3 separate regions of the Homo sapiens genome follow, and all the other regions are linked to region 1. The links are contacts of gene promoters, found by promoter capture Hi-C in human tissues and cell types (Jung and others, 2019). All regions are on one chromosome and are shown on one strand. The core of a region is centred on a gene start or on the middle of the fragment in contact, and the rest is flanking DNA. Distances in the headings are between cores, read along the strand shown. Region 1 overlaps LOC105374329 (a long non-coding RNA gene). Region 2 holds the start of EFR3B (EFR3 homolog B). Region 3 holds the start of DNAJC27 (DnaJ heat shock protein family (Hsp40) member C27).

Region 1 (3,803 bases), core at 608-3,107:
GCTTTTTTCATCTTATTTTTTCTCTGGCTCTAAACCAATATCTGACCTTTGGCAATGTGCTTCATTTCACCTGCTCTGGTGAGAGGTAGTGAGATTTTTTTTCCTCTTTCCCTGTTTCATCTTTGTCTGTCTGGCATTTGGCATACGGCCTGGCACATGTCACTGCCTCACAGGTGAGTGACTTTGGGGCATTTAAACAGGAGGGAGGTTCGGAAGACCCGGTGAGGGTAAAATCATGAAGATCAGGCTGTTTATACCAGGTGCCTTGATGAGCTACATCTTCACCTTTGGGATAAGTGCTCAAAGCCTTCAGGCTTTCCCCCTTGAGCTGGCTTCCCATGGGCAATGGTCAGGCCAGCTGTATGGCACAGAGCCTCCCACAAAGCTGGACTCAGCAATGTCTGAAAAACCCAACTGAATCGACTTCAGGCAGAAGAGACTAGCCAACTGTGGGGCCTGAGCTGAGACTCGGGCAGGAATACCTACTGGAAATTGGCCCAGGGAGGGAGCCACGCAGCTCTCTGAGTGAAGAGTGTTCTGTGCAGCAGGGGGACGTGTTTCTGCAGTTGGAGGAGCAGCTCGCTTAGAGGGAATATCGTCCTGGATATGGCCATGGCAGCAGCCATCTCACCAGGCCGGTTCCACACTATGGTTCTGAGAGTTGTTACTGGAAGCTCAGCTGAGAGCCTGTTCTTCCAGCCCTTCCAATGCTTATATGAGCTACTTAATAAATCCCTTTCTGCCTAAGCTAGTTAGTATAAACTTTATTGTTGAAACCAAGAATCTGACCCAACGTAATTAATTATAGTATCAGTCTTAGGGTTTTCCTTTATACTGTTAAGTGCACTTATATCTCTGTTATCTGAGGCAAGGGTCTGGGGAAATGGGCATGGTTACCAATGGGAATATAAATTGGTAAAATGTCTGGAAGGGTATGTTGGTAGTATTTATTTAAATTATAAAGGCACTTACCTTTTTAACCAGTATTCTAATTATAGGCATTTGTTCTGCAGATACACTTGCATATATAGAAGCTGAGTTATGTACAGTTGCAGCATTGTGTGTGAGAACAAAATATTTTAAATCACCTGAAAGCAACAAGAAGAAACTTTATCTTGATGAAATGACTAAGCTGCTTTTACCTGGAACTTTAATATATGTGAAGGAAGGCTGTCTTCTATGGTGATAATCCAATTAAGGTAAGAAGGAGATCCAAACCAATAGCTAGAGATTGCATATTGCAGGCACAGCTGGCAGGACTCAAACTGTCCAACACAAGTGGATACTCTGGGATGCAAAACCAAAATATCTGGCTTAGAACAAGCTTTTGTGCAGGCCAGTTATTGAGGCTCCCTTGGACCCCATTTGAGACCACAAAGGGGCAGGGGCACCAGGGTGAGGAAAGACTCTTGGCACCGTGATGACACAGCGTGGAGGGACAGCTATCAGTCATAAGCAGCCCTGCAGATGCTAGCCTCTCTCTGTAGAAGAGCAAAGGGTAAACCAGCTCACACAAGCACACATATGAATCCCTGCTGGGATCATGGGGACTCAGGTAGGGGTTTGCCACTCTGCTCTGGTGCCTCCCATAGCAAAGAGGCTGTCTAGGAGGCAGGGGCTCTAGGAGACGCTATTCATGTTGTATTCCACGTCAATGGCGCCCCCTGGAGAGAAGACAATTTGGATGTTGCCCATTGGAAATAGTGTGTGTCAACCCTGCAGGAAAAGTGCCCTCATTCAAAGGTGAGAAGTAACTAAAAGAGAAACAGCACACAAATCTTTAGGAAAATACAAGAAGGAGAAAGGAGGAAATCAATAGGGAAACAACTGGCAGGTAAAGAATACAGAAACATCTTGCCTCAAAACTGGTGAAAATCATGACCAAATACAGTAGTCCCCTGCCCTTATCCACAGAGGATACGTTCCAAGACCCCCAGTGGATGCCCAAAACCACATTTAGTACCAAACCCTATATACTATGTTTTTTTCCTATATGTGCTTTTTTTTTTTTTTTTCCTGAGGCAGAGTCTCACTTTGTTGCCCAGGCTGGAGTGCAGTGGCGTGAACTCTGCTCACTGTAACCTCCACTTCCTGGGTTCAAGCCATTCTCCTGCCTCATCCTCCCAAGTAGCTGGGACTACAGGCATGCACCACCATGCCCGGCTAATATTTGTACTTTTAGTAGAGAGGGGGTTTCACCGTGTTGGTCAGGCTGGTCTTAAACACCTGGGCTCAAGTGATTCACTCGCCTCAGCCTCCCAAAGTGCTGGGATTACAGGTGTGAGCCACCGTGCCTGGCCCCCTATATGTGCATGTCTATTTGATAAAGTTTAATTTCTAAATTAGGCACAGTAAGGCTGGGCTCAGTGGCTCACACCTGTAATCCCAGCACTTTGGGAGGTTAAGGCAGGAGGATCACTCAAGCTCAGGAGTTCCAGAGTAGCCTGGGAAACATAGCAAAACTTTGCCTCTACAAAAAGTAATATTAGTCAGCATTGTGGTGCATGCGTGTAGTCCAAGCTGCTTGGGAGGCTGAGATGGGAGAATCACTTAAGCCCAGGAGGTTGAGGCTGCAGTAAGCCATCATGGAGCCTCTGCACTCCAGCTTAGGTGACAGAATAAGACCCCATCTCAAAAAATAATTATCATCATGAAAAATTAGGCACAGTAAGAAATTAATGACAATAACTACTAATAAAATAGGACAAATTAAATAAAGTAATATAATGAAAGTTATGTGAATATGATTTCTCTCTCTGCATTGCACCTATTTTTGGACCCTGGTAACTGAAATTGAGAAAAGTAAAACTGTGAGACTACCATAAATCTCCATAAACTCTAGGAACTAAAGTAAAAATAATCTCTATATAACAAGCACTCAAAGCAGAGATACAAGAGTTCAAGGAAAAAAATGACAAAGCAACTGAAGATGAAAAATGAGCTGGCACTAATGTTTTCTTTGAGGTAGAATTACATAAAGTCTTAGATGTACAGTCTGATGGATTTTTTTTTTCAAGTAACCATACCCATGTAACTACCACTCTGCTACAGATATGGAACATTCTCCGCATCCAAGAAGACTCCTTCCTGCCCCCTTCCAGTCAAAAGTAATTGCTGTTTTGATCTCTATCATCCACCATAAATTAGTTTTGCCTATTGTTGAATGTCCTATAAATGAAAACATATAGTAGATGTTCTTCTATGTCCAGGTTCTTTCACTTTACCTTATGCCTGTGACAGTCATCTACATAGTTGTGGATAGCAGTAGTTCATTCTTTTTCAATATTGTGTGGTATTCCATTATATGACTATGCCACAATATATTAATGCATGAATTTTCGAGTTGTTTCCGTTTGTGTTATGAATAAAGCTGCAATGAACATCCTTGTGCATGTCTTTTGGTGAATATAAGCATTCATTTTCATTAGGAATATACAAAGGAGTGGAATTTTTAGGTCATAGAGTATATGTATATTTCACTTTGGCACCATTAAGTTTTCCAACGTGGCTGTACCAATTTAAATCAGGAACACATGCTCCATATCTTTGCCTCCATTTGGTTTTCCTTTTAGTTTTAGCCATTCTGGGAACAGCACCTCATTGGTTTTTTCACTTACATTTCCCTGACACTTCGAACCTTTTCATGTGTTTATTTATTGTGAGGTACCAGTTCAAGTCTTAGCCCAGTTTTTATTGGTTTGTCTTGCTTACTGATATGGAGTTCATTATATATTCTGGACAGGAGTCTTTCATCAGATATGTAAATACAAATATTTTATTCCCATCTGTGTCTTGCCTTTCAC
Region 2 (3,803 bases), core at 487-2,986, 620 kb before region 1:
GGCTGCTACCTCTGCAGAAAAGAAGAGGGGGAAAACAGAGAGAGTAAAAAAATACACACATACTCCTATATATATACATACATATCACAACCTCTGGCTTATAAAGCATAACCGCCTTTTTACCTTTCCCCAGAGTCCCCAGTGGTCAGCAGCACAGCCTCTCAGGCCAACCTCCCCCTCCTCCCACTTGGTCCAAGAGAAATGGTACTTGCTGAGGGGACCTGCTGATGTCTCACCCTGGATCAGAAATGCAAACGTATTTCTGAGCAACTGGGCAGGGAAGGAGACCGATGAAAAAGTTGAGTCAGTCTCTCTCTCTCTCTCAGTAGGGGGGCCCACCAATTGCTGAGCCTTTCCACCAGGCTCTCAGCTTCCTCTGCCTCTAACAAACTTTGTGACTCACAGTCTGTTCGCGGAGCGAGGCAGCTGAGCAGCCGAGCAGCCTCAGTGATGGGTTAAATTGGGAACGCACTCTTCTCCAAACACTGACCCCTCAAGTGCAGCCTGAGCCCCTACCTTGCAGTGGGGGTGGGAGGTGAGCACAGCTCCAATTATTTTGCTGGCACTAGAAGAGCTGCCAGAGACCTGGGTTTTCATGGACTTATGTCTACCGGGATCACACACACACGCACAGCCCTTGGTGGGCTGCAGGCTCAGGAATGCAGTCCATTCCTAGACTGGTCTAGGTCTCCAGTGCTCCATTCATCAGAGCTGCAATGTGGGACCCAACGCGCTCTCTCTTCTTCACCCACACTGCCTGCAAAACCAGAGGGAGTCCTAGCAAATGATCAAGCAGAGCCGTGCATCGTGAGGGTCTGGCTAACTGTTGCACGGCAGTTGAGGGGATGGCGGTGGAGGCGGGGAGAGGTCAGGGCTGTGCTGCACCCTCTCAGCAGCGTCTCCTCCCTTCATCACTGCGGAGGGAAAATCTGGAAGTTGGTGAACCTGGATCCCGCGGGGCGGCAGGGGCAGGCAGAGGCCGAGTCCATTCAGGCGGGCGAGACGAGACTCGGCCACTGGCTGCTCCCCGGGCCTCTGCGCCGCCGGCGCCGCCTCCCGCCTTCTCCGAGCCGCGCAGACGACCGGCCGCGGGCGTCTCCCTCAGCCCTGGACCGGCTTCCCACAGAAAACTCCCAGGCACAAACCGCTTTTGTTAATTCCGCAAATGCTGCCACACGACCACCTCCTCCAGCACTCCCGGTCTGCTCGGCTCCGGGAGACCCGCTTTCCCCTGAGCCTCCGCCCCCCGAAGGACCACCGCCCAGCACCGGCACGCGCCGGGCCTGGAGAGGACCCCAGGGTCCCCGGCCCGAGGCATCTTTGTCCTCGCAGCGCAGACGCGCGCGCACAGAGCGACCGCAACAGCCCCGCCGGGCACCAGGTCAGCGGCCTGGCCCCGCGCCAGGGCCGTGCAGGGGGACAATGGTCCGCGCCGGGGAAGTTTGCGGAGTCGCCCCCGCGGGCCCGGGCCCGGGCGCGGAGCCCTCCTTACCGTACATCTCGGCGGGGCGCGCGCCTCTCGAGAGGCCGGCGTCGCTGCGGCGTTCCCAGCCAGCCCTCGGCGGCGCCCGCCTTTCATTCACAGTCGGGGCGGGGACTGGCGGCGGCCGACAGGGGCCCGGGCGGGGAGGGAGCAGACGCGGGGGCCGGCCGCGGGCAGGACGGAGCCGGGCGCCGCCAGCCCATTCAGCGCCGGGCTGCAGCGGCCGCCTCCGCTCGGGTTGCTGGGCACTGCTGCGCGCAGGGGGCGGGGGCTATGCTAATACTAATGCTCCTCCCTCCCGGCTCGGCCAACCCGAGGCCTCTGCGAGCCCCTCGCCCCGCCCCGCCCCTGCGCCCCGCCCCCGAGAAACCCACAGCCGGAGATGCGCCTTTTCCGAGGCTGTCGCCCTAAGGGCCGCAGCGTGCACCTGCGGAGCTACCCACCCCAACTCCCTGCTCCTGTCGGAGCGCTCGGAAGCTCTCCCTAACCTGGGGTCCTCGAGGTCAGCCGGGGCGCTGAGAGCTGCAGGTGCACCCCTCCTCCAGTTCTGTCCAGGCTGCGTGGGCTAAGCCGGGGGGCGCAAGGATGGGAATTGGGGAATGACTTCCACCCTCTCCTGGCTAGGTACCTTAGCTGAGCGCCGTTCTCTGATGAAGCCCTCCAGCCCTCAGCTGCGCCCTACCAGCTACTCTCTGGCTAGGTGCCCAGCCACTCTCTGGCTAGGTGCTTGCTACCACCAAACAGCGTCCTTCCCGGGTCAGGGACGCAGGAAACGCACCCCACTCCCAACCCCCAAGGGCTGCAGGAAGTCCGCTTGCTTTTCCTCTCCCTGATTTATATGTGTAATTCGCAAGCTTTGCCGCCAGGATCCTCTCCAGCTGAGCCCCAGCGCCGACTTGAATTCCAGCTCTGCACCTGCCGTGACCCTATGAGGAACAGGCACAGAGAGGCAGCGGCTCATGCCTACGCCCACACCTGAAGATCTCTCCTAAGCTAGCTCAGGACTTCCCTGGGCTTCTCATCCAGCCTTCTTTACATTGCACACGTTCCCGTCTTTTTTTTTTTTTTTTTTTTTTTTTTTTTTTTTTTTGACATGGAGTCTCACTCTCGCCCAGGGTGGAGTACAGTGGCACTATCTCGGCTCCCTGCAAACTCCGCCTCCTGGGTTCAAGCGATTCTTCCACCTCAGCCTCCAGAGTAGCTGGGACTACAGGTGCGTGCCACCACGCCCGGCTAATTTTTGTATTTTTTGGTAGAGAAGGGATTTCACCATGTTGGCCAGGCTGGTCTGGAACTCCTGACCTCAAGTGATCCGCCCGCCTCGGCCTCCCAAAGTGCTGAGATTACAGGCCTGAGCCACTTCTCCTGCCCCTCCTGGCCTTTCAATATCGATTTCTTAGTTTCTCTTGGCCCATGGTTGAGAGTTGTTTGGGTTTTCTTTTGTTTTTTTCTACTGGTAGAAATATTCTACTAGTAGAAGTTAGAGAGGAAAGGAACTTAAAGATACTTAAGAACTGAACTTCATTTTACTTCATTTAACGTTGAGAGGTTAATTTATGTTGTTAGGCTGGGCTGTGTGTCTGTAGGCCAATGATCTACTCTCTCAACCCCAGCTTCCTGCAGGACTGTTGGGAAACTGGAATAAAATCTACATGAAATGACACAGTGGGCACTCATGTATATTTTTTCCTTCCTTCATGGCTCAAGGCAGGAACAGAGCCAGAGAAAGAATCCAGGTTGCCAGACTCTTGAAACAGTGCTCAGTCTGTTGCACTCAAAACTTATGTTTCCTATTTTTCTCTGGCCTGGGCCTCCACCTCCCGCCCGCGCCCCACTCTCTTGCTGTTTCCAGGTTTTCTTCTTCTTCCTTGACCTCTTTGACTCTCTTAGCAGCATGCCAGCCCCAAGGGAAACCCTGGGATGGTTCCTGGAACACACATTTAGTCTAGACCCCCCTACCCCGGGCACACACTCCCTGCATCTCACAAATAACCTCTGTCTCTGTTCTTCAGTTCCAGGACCAGGCCAGGTGGCTTTAAGATTGACTGAGAGTCAGACTTGAACTGGAGCAGGAAGGAGAATCTCAGCTCTAGCTTGATATGATCACCCAGAGACACTCCCTTCCCACAATTCTGCTCAACACAAAATATACTCATGAAACATTGGTGTCTACAGTACAGAAGGAAATGCAGTGTCTGTCTTCAAAGAATGAAAGGTCTAGCAGGGAATTCCAGATGAATACTGATAAAAACATTACTTGAGGCCAGACGTGGTGGCTCACACCTGTAATCCCAGCACTTTGGGAGGCCAAGGCAGGTGG
Region 3 (3,803 bases), core at 544-3,043, 550 kb before region 1:
GCCTGTAATCCCAACACTTTGGGAGGCAAAGGCAGGAGGGTCACCTGAGGTCAGGAGTTCGAGACCAGCCTGGCCAATATGGTGAAACCCCGTCTCTACTAAAAATACAAAAATTATCTGCGTATACCGGTGGGTGCCTGTAATCCCAGCTACTCGGGTGGCTGAGGCAGGTGAATTGCTTGAACCCGGGACACAGGGGTTGCAGTGAGCAGAGATTGTGCCACTGCACTCTAGCCTGGGCAACAAGAGGGAAACTCTGTCTCAAAAACAAAAACAAAAACAAAAAAAACCCCATCAATATGAAAAAAATAGTAATCAATTTAAATCTGTGGCATGTTTTACTGCTTAGTCTCAACAGCACCATACTTAATCAATCATAACAGCTGAAGATTTGACATTTTATAATTATTCTTCCACAATACCAGTTACCCTATTACAGGGCCAAAGGTGAACTGTCGAAGAAATTACATGTTTAGTAATTTGATTTATTAAATCATACTGAGAAGTTAGCATGTGGATTCTTTTAAGCTTTAAAACTATCCAAATTCTAACCAGGACTTATATTTCATATTTGTAAATAATTTTAGAAGCTTCAGTGAATTAAGTTATATTATTTGATTATCAAAACAATCCAGAATAAACTTGTCTTAAAAAAAACTTAATGTTTAAAAAACACATTTTAAAATTAAAATGTGGAAAATCTGACTTTACTGTGAAATGTTGAGCCTTTGCTCATTGCCTTCCTGTAATGCACTTCCCTTAAGATGTTTAAAGTTAGGTGAGAAAAGAAGCAATGCTACTTTTGTCTTTGTAATATACAGGGAAATTGGCAGCCATTTTTTTTCAGGGCACTATAAATAATCATTGTCAAGTTCTATTTATCTTCTGTAACTGAAGATATTCACTGAAAAAAAATTACCGTTCCTGTCAGACTGACTTTTATTCAAGCACTGTCACATTGTCAGCTAAAGGGAAGGGGAGAGCAGACGTCGAGGTCACGTTCGAAGCGAACAGCGGGGAGCTGAGGAAACTGACGTCCACAGCTCCAGCCTGGCTTAGCGTTAACACCTGCAGTAGACCAAGCCTTTCTCCCACAGAGGAGTCAACAAATCCATCAGAGATCTGTAATAGGAGGGCCAAGACTAAACACTCTTGCCTTGACTCCAAATAGACAACTCCATTTAAAATAAAAAACAATAGGAACCAGATTCAGAATCGCTTCACGCCTTGCCCAAGGCCCTCTTCCAGAACCAGGGTTCCGACCTCCCCACTTTCCTGGCTTTGGGGTCTGCCTCTCGGGGATCTCGAGCAAGGGGAACAAAATATTGGAGGGGGAAGAGGAGCAGCAGCCCGGCCCATGGAACCGAAAAAGAATCCAGAAAAAAAAAAAAACACTCCCAAACGGACGAGACACTACCAGACCCGCCCTGAAGAGCCAATACATTTCCACCACTCGGCTGCGAAAGCAACAAACGCCTCCCGTCCGGGCGTCCCTGAAAACAAGGACGCGCTCACCTCGAAGGGTAAACCCAGCCGCCCCCCAACGCCGCCTTCCCGTCAGGGGACGAGGCCTTAGAAACTCGGTAACTGCAGTCGCGTCTCCAGGGCCTGCAGATGACGTCAGCAGCCCCGCGCTAGCATCGCGAGACTCCCGTCTCCCTCCCCCGGCTCCCCACGCTCCCAACCGCCCGCGCCTGCTGCCAGGCAGCGGCGGGGATGGCGAGCAGCGGAGGCGAGGCGGTGACGAGAGCAGCGGCTCCGCCATTGGACGAGGAGGCCTGAGGGACGGGCCAGCGGTGCACAAGAAGAGACCGAGGCGGGTGGCCCCGAGAGAGCCAGGGCCATGGAGGCCAACATGCCGAAGCGGAAGGAGCCCGGCAGGTCTCTCCGCATCAAAGTCATCTCCATGGGCAACGCCGAAGTGGGGAAAGTGAGTACAGCGAGCCGGGAGGGGCGGGCCCCAGCGTGGCGGGGCGACGTGTCCATTGGCTGGAAGGGCGGCCACTCAACAGCCTGGGGCCCGGCCTCCTCTCCGCCCCCGAGCAGGCCCGGGTCTCAGCCGAGGGGTGCGGCTCCGCGAACGAAACTCCCCGACCTTTTTGACCTTTCCGTTGCCCCCTCGTCCTCCGACGTCACTCTTCCGGAGATGGTGTCTGGGGTGGCCTCTAAGCCTTGAATGTACCCCCAAAAGAGTAAGAAGGCCTGGGTCCCCATGAGGGGCCGTCGGCCTAGATACCTTGCCCGCGTTCTAGGGGGCCGTCCGGGACCGGGAGATGGAGGATGAAAGTTTAGTTCCCCCAGCCGGGCCTGGGAGCCGGCGGAACGTTATGGGGTGCGTGTGAGAATTTGGGGTTCGCGAAATGGTGCCCGGCAGCCCAGATTCTGCATTCCCGTCACGAGAGAGCGTAACTGACGTTGACGTGTTTCACAGGGGAGGTGCAAGGGATGGCCGGGGTCCGCGCTGTTTTGTTTTGCGTTGTGTTTTATTTTTGGTGGTGTCCCCATATCTGTTAGTTCCACCGCCCTTCTCTCTGCCCCATCTGTGGTTCATCAGCTATAAACTCTCCTTTAGTACGTGGGGAGGGAAGGCCAGAGGTAACCTGAGGCCTTTTCCCTTATGAATTCCAAGACGGCCTCCTCTTCACTCAAATTCTTTCCTTTTGGGCAAGTGGAATCTGTTGGTTAAGAACTTCCCAAGGTCATCAAATCAGTGACCGAGGAAAGATTAGAACCTAAGTCTTCACATTCCCACTGCGGTGCTCTTTCCGTCGTTGTATGCGTTCAAAATCAACTCCGAAAGAGCTGTTAAGGCAGTGCCTAGTCCAGTGCCTGGCACCCAGGAGATGCTCAGTAAATGTTTACTTAGTGTTTTTTATTTCTGTGTAGCATGATCCCGTACTACTTTTGTGTGTATGTGCTAGCATAGTATTCACTGAAAGTCAACATTTTTTTGAACGTCAGCTGTGTACGAGGTGTTTTTTTTTTTCTAGGGACTGGGCACGCTAGCTCAGGCCTGTAATACATCAGCACTTTGGGAGGACGAGGCGGGCGGATCACTTGAGGTCAGGAGTTCAAGACCAGCATAGTGAAATCCTGTCTCTACTAAAAATGCAAAATTAGCCAGGCATGGTGGTGCACGCCTTTAATCCCAGCTACTTGGGAGGCCGAGGCGGGAGAATCGCTTAAGCCGGGGAGGCAGAGGCTGCAGTGAGCCGAGATCACGCCATTGCACTCCAGCCTGGGCGGCAGAGTGAGACGCCGTCTCAAAAAAAAAAAAAAAAAAAAAAGTAATTTTACTGTGCCTAATGATACAACATTAGAAGCAGCTCAGAATGCCCAGTGTCACCACATCTACTTAACATTTTTCTAGTTTTATTAGCCAGTGCAATTAGACAAGAGTAAGAGAATATAAAAATATTAGAAAAGAGAAGGTAAAATTAACATTATTTGCTAATAATACGATTGTTTACCTGGAAACCCAAAGAGAAATAACTGAAAAACTATTAGAAACATTATAAAAATTCAATAAAGCAAAATTATTACCCACAAATTAATAACTTTATTGTGTCCAAATTATATTCAGTTGGAATGTGTAATTGAAAAACAATTTTAATTTACAGTTACAACAAAAATAAAGTTCCTAGGTTTAAACTTAACATGAAATAGGCAGCACCTATATGAAGACAAGTTTCAAACTCTACAAAGGGAGATAAATTACTTAGGCAAATGGAAAGATATACTTTTTCCTTACGTGGGATTACACAATATTGTACAGATGTGAATTACTCAACCTACAAATGAAA

Evidence for each region. The method cuts DNA at HindIII sites, captures the fragments that hold promoters and counts their contacts. A contact is called where the count stands out against the background at its distance.
Region 2: a contact is called between the fragment with the promoter of EFR3B here and a fragment that was not itself captured in region 1, in 1 of the 25 tissues and cell types used here (spleen).
Region 3: the fragment with the promoter of DNAJC27 here is called in contact with a fragment that was not itself captured in region 1 in 1 of the 25 tissues and cell types used here (lymphoblastoid cells).

Annotation. Positions count from the first base shown.
Region 1 is chr2:24,419,687-24,423,489 of GRCh38, reverse strand. All of the region lies in intron 2 of LOC105374329 (a long non-coding RNA gene), which reads right to left. Among named protein-coding and RNA genes, the nearest start is that of ITSN2, 61 kb to the right of the region's middle. The HindIII fragment of the contact is 6,231 bases long and covers 1-3,803 here.
Region 2 is chr2:25,040,009-25,043,811 of GRCh38, reverse strand. It overlaps EFR3B (EFR3 homolog B), which reads right to left and starts at 1,736. Exons shown (of 23, transcript NM_014971.2): 1 at 1,493-1,736. The coding sequence starts at 1,499. RefSeq lists silencers at 343-472, 803-932, 1,043-1,122, 1,253-1,872 and enhancers at 830-1,778, 1,779-2,728. The HindIII fragment of the contact is 5,946 bases long and covers 1-3,386 here.
Region 3 is chr2:24,969,945-24,973,747 of GRCh38, reverse strand. DNAJC27 (DnaJ heat shock protein family (Hsp40) member C27) reads left to right here and starts at 1,793. Exons shown (of 7, transcript NM_016544.3): 1 at 1,793-1,930. The coding sequence starts at 1,844. DNAJC27-AS1 (DNAJC27 antisense RNA 1) reads right to left here and starts at 1,636. Exons shown (of 3, transcript NR_034113.1): 1 at 1,516-1,636. RefSeq lists enhancers at 744-1,261, 1,473-1,552, 1,262-1,780, 1,763-1,872, 2,133-2,242 and 2 more and a silencer at 2,003-2,082. The HindIII fragment of the contact is 11,912 bases long and covers 1-3,803 here.